Regions from separate parts of the Homo sapiens genome. Here region 1 is linked to region 2. The links are contacts of gene promoters, found by promoter capture Hi-C in blood cells and fetal thymus (Javierre and others, 2016). All regions are on one chromosome and are shown on one strand. The core of a region is centred on a gene start or on the middle of the fragment in contact, and the rest is flanking DNA. Distances in the headings are between cores, read along the strand shown. Region 1 holds the start of PTRHD1 (peptidyl-tRNA hydrolase domain containing 1). Region 2 holds the start of FKBP1B (FKBP prolyl isomerase 1B).

Region 1 (3,294 bases), core at 278-2,777, 740 kb after region 2:
CTTATATTTTATTGGCCCTTCTGACTACAGCGGCACCTCAATGTAATCAGTAGCGACTCCTAAGTCCCTTTCTTGAGTCATGACTAACAACTAAGAATCATGAGACCCTCTTTTAAACTCAGGGGAGTCACTTAATCCCTGTAGGCTTCAGAGAGTTTCACCTGCGACAAGAGGAGTCTAACCTGATTTCTTGAGACCTCTTACTAGGAAGAAAATCTAAGTGAAAAGCCAGCAGCTTCTGTTCTGCCTACACAGATTCTCAAGGCATTTTTCCTACAGGTTACCGCTTGATGTTTCACTATCCAGCAGCAATTTTTCTCTTGAAAGATAATCTATCTTTGTCAGTTACCCATGAAGGGATTACTCCACCCCTCCACCTGAGTTCTGGCTTAAAGCCGTTTTTCCTTATTATAAAAAGCCGTTTATTATTAAAGCCGTTTTTCCTTATTATAAAATATGTGCTTAAGGTAGAAAATTTTAAAAATACAGATTAAGCATTAGGAAATAACCAAAATCTCACCATGCACTACTTAATATGTAGATGTATTTCTTTAGTTTTTCCTTTCAAAGTCTGGATCATTCTGTATATATAGTTCAGTTAGCTTCGCATCATGAGCACTCTTCCCGACCACTAAATATGCTTCAAAACCATAAGGGCTCCCATGAATATCCTTGTGCAAAGCTCTTTGGGTGCATCTGATTATTTTCTTAGGCTACATCTCTAGCAGCAGGATAGAGAGTCAAAGGGTAAGGGTGAGATTTGTTTGGTCATCTGCAAACAGAACCTGACTGCTATTTTAAAAGGTGTACCGATTTACACACCTGGTGCCTGGTCTAGCTGAAGCTAGGTTCAATTTATACTAACGTTTTTAGTATTTATTTTCAAATAATTTGGCGTCCTACCCAGGTAAATACTCAGTTTGACTTCACTTTGCACTGTCCCTTCGGGCTCGGTTTTGCAGGAGGACAGCACTTTGGGGCATGGCTTTAAAAAGTCGGCCAGTGCACAGGCGGAACAGCGGGGACACAGGAGCCACCACTTTACCGCGAGCCCAGCAGGGGGCGGAGGACTGCTGTCCACTCTTCACACAGTCAGGCCCTTCCCAAGGGCGCACCTCCAGGGAAACAGCTCCAGTCTAAATGTTAACGATCACCCCAACTCCCGCCGCACCCACTCCCCGCAGCCAGGCCTTCGGACCGAAGACCACACCCACTTCCGCCCTCGATGTCTCAGCACCTCCCCCTCCGCCCGAGTGCCTCACCTCGAGGACCACTTTGCGCATGCGCCCCAGCTCTTGGAGGTAAGCGGCTGTGTGCGGGTGGTCGCGGTGAGTGTGCAAGGCCGCGGTGGCCGCGTGACAAGCCTGCGCTACCAGTGCGCCCGCCGGCCAGGAGAACGGAGCTTGTGATAGATCCTTTCGTAACACCAAGTATTGTACCAGGACCTGCGGCTCCGCCCCAGAGGCCGCCATCTTCCTGACCACCCGAAAGGCCGGACCTACTCCCCGGTGCATCTTGGGATCAGGGCGGGGCCCTGAGCGCCGCCATGCTTTTGTACGGCAGGATCGCAAAGCACGCCGGGACCGGTTGGTTTGGTTTTGAAGACGTGGATGGCGGGAATTCTCGCTTCTGGCCTGGGTGAGCTAGAAGGGAGAAGGTAGGGGAAAGACCCATTGTCGGACCGGACCGTGGCCAGGGTGGCGGGCTGAACGGCCTTCTTAAAACTCCTTCCGTGGCCGGGAAGCCCGCTGGACCAGAGTAGCCGTGGCCTCGGGAGCGCGCCGGGGCCGCGGGATGGGCGCGGGGGTGGGCATGGACTCTGCTGGCTCGGACGATGGGAGAGGGCGGGCGGCTCAGGAAAGGGGATCCTAGCCGTGACATTTGTGTCATCCGCGGCCCAGGGGTTGTGCCTGAGTGGTGTGTGCCCTGCCGTCTGGGTTTGAATGGGACTAGATGTGATGTGACTGTTGCCATTTTTCTTTTATTAGCAAGGACATTGGAGTCCCTATCACCGGTTGCCTAGACAACTTCATGGGAAGGCCCTTGGGAATCTGAGATGGAGCAGGCGAACCCTTTACGTCCAGATGGCGAGTCCAAAGGAGGTATTCAGAGGGTCGCCGCCTCCTTCCTGCTGCTGCCCAAAGATGACCCGCAGGCTGAGAGAGCCCTTTCCTCCTGGAACTGACGTGGGACCTGGCCTGTTTGGGAGCAGAATAGTGAAAGGAACTAACATTGAAGACAAAGGGACAGGCAGCCAAGATTATTCGAGGAGGAAAAATGGCTTCGTTTCTAGGCTCCCACCCCTTTTGAAACGGATAAGTTGCATCCATCATATGCTCAGTGTTTATATTCTGAACTGCGGTTCTAGCCAGGGAGGTCCCTTTCCTCTCCCCGGATTTTTTGGGCCATGTATGCATTACTCTTGAGGGAGGGCCAGTGTAGGGCAGTGACTTTAGTGTTGGCTAGAACTGGTTTTGAGTGTTGGCTCTGCCATGATAAATATTGTGACCTTAGGCAAGTCACTTTATTCTCTGCCTCTGTTTCTTCATCTGGAAAATGGAGGTGAAAATAGCACTGTAGTTGTGGTTGTGGAAAAAGTATTTCTTTTGTGGTGGAAAAGTATTGAACTCAGACTTTTCAAGTGAAGCATTTAGCACATGTCTAATATATAGGAAATATTCAATGAAAGGCTTAATTCTTTACATACTTTGTGTCTTAAAATGTAGAAGGTGTTTAAAGAATGCTTGTTAGAGTTGCTTAGAATTACGAAACTATTACTTTTACTTAGTCCTTAGTCAATCCTTTGGAAACTGAGATTTGCGTTTGAATTTCTGTCCAGGAGTAAGTTGCTTTCTTCTTTAGTGCCTAGTAATATTTGTGGACAGTTCTGGTTTTGTGTGACTTTATGTTCTTTGCTACTAATACTTTTTAGAACTTTGAAATACTTACTCAAGCCTGATGCCTAAATCCAAAGGGTTCTACGTTAGTACTTTGGGAAAGCTTGCCATAAAACCTAACTTAAATTACAGTTTTAAAAAGAATTTCTGAGCGCGTCAGTGAATTTGGTTATCCTATTTTTCTCTGGGTCATCATTATCATTGATAACAGAGAAGTAACTATATTCAGCCTAAGATGACTTAAGCTGAGACTTTAGATAATAAAAGTATATGGGGTAAGATTTATTGTTACTTTAAGACTAAAAATAAGTTTGGTGACTTTATGTAGTGGAAACATGCTACACTCAGGAGTAACCTGTTCTCTAGTCCAGGCCTTATTTCATTTCTGTTAAAGTAA
Region 2 (3,014 bases), core at 180-2,679:
ATTTAAAAATTAGCCGAACGCTGGTGTCTCACGCCTGTAATCCCAGCTACTTGGGAGACTGAGGCACGAGAATCGCTTGAACCTGGGAGGCGGAGGTTGCAGTGAGCCGAGATTGTGCCACTGCACTCCATCCTGGCGACAGAGTGAAGATTCTGTCTCAAAAAAAAAAAAAAAAAAAAGGAGAGAGAGAGAGACGGGATCTCGCTATGTTACCCAGGCTGGTCTTGAACTTCTAGGCTCAAGCAATCCTCCTGCCTCGGTCTCCTACAGTGTTGAGATTACAGGTGTGAGCCATTGTTCCAAAAATTGATATACTTGGCCTCACATCAATTTTTGGAACAATGCAGGTAATAATGAGGGGGAAAAAATTTTAAAAGTCCCAATTACCCTTTAAACAAATATTACCTCCTCCAAAAAATATTTTTCTAGATTCCTGAATGTATTTTTTGGTGGAGGAGGAACTCAAAGTAGAATTCATTTACATATTCATTCATTCATTCCACAGCACTAATCACTCCATGCAGTAACTGTGTGTCCCCGTCCCTCTCAGACTTAGTACCTGGAAGACAGCCAACCTGTCTTAATTCTATTGGTATCCCCAGGGCGCATTTCTTTGCCTTGAAAATTGAGTACCCAATAAATGTGCGTCGAGCAGAACTACACGAGATGGAGAACAGGGGTTTAGGGGTATGGGGGAGAGTCAGCAATTACTGGTGTCCTCCCTCCCTCCCCCAGCTCTGCTCCTACAGATCCAGGACGCCTAGCGAGGGTAGGAACCTCTTCTGTGCTTCCGCAACGCTCTGAACTGCACGGCACTGAGCGCATCTAATTAAAGTGATGGTTTCATTAGATAGCAACACAGCGAGACCCCGTTTCTACAAAAAATAAAAATAAAAAATAAAAGATTAGCTGGGCGTGGTTGCTCGCGCCTCTAGTCCCAGCTACTTGGGTGGAGGCTGAGGAAGAAGGATCGCTTGAGCCTAAGAGTTCGAGGTTGCTGTGAGCTATGATCGCGCCACTGGACTCCAGCCTGGGCGACAGAGCAAGATCCTCTGTCTAAAATAAAAATAAAAATAAAATGATGGTTTAATCGCCGGCCTTTGCCCCTTCTGCCCCCCACCCCCCACAAGTCTGTAGGACTGGGTTGACTTCCCAGAGCTTACTACAGATTAGATGCTAAATAAATGTCTATTGGACGGATGCGCGAATGAATGGATGGATGGAGGATGTGGTTGTGCTTACCACGCTCCCTGGTCAGTGGGTTAATGTCGTCAGGCGGGGCCAGGCTCGCTAACAGCCGGGCGGGGTCCCTTCCCCCGGGCCCCGCCCCGGCCGACCCCACCTTTCCGCGCGGCTCCGCCCCGCCGCCCCCTTGCCAGTGGCCCCTCCCCGCGCAGGTCCCGACTCCAGCCGCACCTCCTCCGGCTCTGCAGTGGCGGCGAGGAGGCGAGCCGGAGCGACGGCGGGGCTGGGGCCGGAGCCGAGCCGGGGTCGGGCAGCAGCAGGGACCCCCCAGAGGCGGGGCCTGTGGGACCGCTATGGGCGTGGAGATCGAGACCATCTCCCCCGGAGACGGTACCGGGCTCCCTCCGGAGCCAGGGGAGGGGAGGGGTCCCGGGGCGGAGCCCGGAGGGCGGGGGTCTGATTCGGAGGTGGCGTGGAGGGTGCTGAAGGGTCGGGGGGCTGGATGGGGAAGGCAGGCGGAGACGCCGGACGGGATTCTTGGGGGTCTAGGAGACCATCCTCCGCCATCCTCTTCCGCGCTCACCTAGGGGAATGTAGGCGGCAGCTCGGAGGCGGGGGTCTGCGGCCCGGAGGCGGGGGTCTGCGGCCCGCCACCGCCCCGGGCTTCTCCTGTCGCGGCTGCAGTCGTTCGGTTATCCGCTGCTGCTGATACCCCAGCCTGGGTTTCGGCTTCGCTTTCCCTGCCCTACTCGGCGAGCTCTGGAAAGCAGGACCTGCTCTCGGATACCCGCTGCTCGGGGACCTCCTCCTAGCGCGTCCCCCGCCGGGCCTCCCCTCGGTCGCTTCCCTGCGGGCCGGGCTGTGAGCGGCTGTGGGGACAGACCCAGGCTGGGGAAGGGGGAAGCGCTCCCTTGCCCGCTTCCGGATCTCGCTTTATCCTGCCGCCGCTTTCAGACTCCCTGGCCACCCTGTCCACTCCCATGGCCTCCACATTGAAGCTTCTAAGCCCAGCCCTGCGACCTACGGCCGAACCTCTCCCTGGACGTCCCAGGGTGCTCCCTGGTCAGCAAGTCCAAAACAGAACTCTCGCTTCCCACCTTCTCTCCTAAGTGATCCTCTTTATCCCCCTTCCGTGTCTCACTTTCCCAAGTCCTTGTATTACTGGGTCTGGGTGTGCAAGGAATAGCCATTTCTTTATTTCTTGAAATTTAATTAATACCAAAGCCCCCATTGTCTGCAGGGTTTGATGGGCAAACTTCATATCAGATATTATTAATATGAACAGCTCCCCTCCCCAGGAAATTGGATAACTTCTTGGCTCCAGGCCATCTTCCTTGTCCAATCCCAGCCACTACTTCAGATATCCCCTGGAGTACAGGCTTCTTTGCCCACGCAGGAAACATTGCTGCTGGGTCCCAGAAAGCATCTCCCTGAGGCCTTTTCATCCCTCAGCAGCCCCTGAGCTAATCTCCCCATCTTCAGTCTCTCCTCCCTGCTTTCAATCTCGTCCCCAATCTCATATTCACTCCCTTTCTATATCATAGCCTGAAGACTCTTCTTAAAATGCAGTGGCTCACGCCTGTAATCCCAGCACTTTGGGAGGCTGAGGCGGGCGGATCACAAGGTCAGGAGTTCGAGACCAGCCTGACCAACATGTTGAAACCCCGTCTCTACTAAAAATACAAAAATTAGCTGGGCATGGTGGTACGCACCTGTAATCCCAGCTACTCGGGAGGCTGGGGCAGGAGAATCACTTGACCCTGGGAGCCAGAGGTTGCAGTGAGCTGAGATTGTGCCATTGCACTCCAGCCTGGGTGACAGAGCAAGAC

Evidence for each region. Contacts are between HindIII fragments. The CHiCAGO score rates a contact against its expected background, and 5 or more counts as called.
Region 1: the fragment with the promoter of PTRHD1 here is called in contact with the fragment with the promoter of FKBP1B in region 2 in 10 of 17 cell types (M2 macrophages, non-activated CD4 T cells, neutrophils and 7 more); the score reaches 11.4 in M2 macrophages.

What each region holds. Positions count from the first base shown.
Region 1 is chr2:24,791,864-24,795,157 of GRCh38, forward strand. It overlaps PTRHD1 (peptidyl-tRNA hydrolase domain containing 1), which reads right to left and starts at 1,528. Exons shown (of 2, transcript NM_001013663.2): 1 at 1,263-1,528. The coding sequence starts at 1,514. It overlaps CENPO (centromere protein O), which reads left to right and starts at 1,562. Exons shown (of 8, transcript NM_001322101.2): 1 at 1,562-1,638; 2 at 1,989-2,102. The coding sequence starts at 2,057. LOC105369164 (a long non-coding RNA gene) reads right to left here and starts at 1,212. Exons shown (of 3, transcript XR_939843.4): 1 at 904-1,212; 2 at 521-721. RefSeq lists an enhancer at 1,189-1,618. The HindIII fragment of the contact is 6,911 bases long and covers 1-2,998 here.
Region 2 is chr2:24,048,312-24,051,325 of GRCh38, forward strand. FKBP1B (FKBP prolyl isomerase 1B) reads left to right here and starts at 1,430. Exons shown (of 4, transcript NM_004116.5): 1 at 1,430-1,575. The coding sequence starts at 1,539. RefSeq lists a silencer at 1,292-1,591. The HindIII fragment of the contact is 22,874 bases long and covers 1-2,181 here.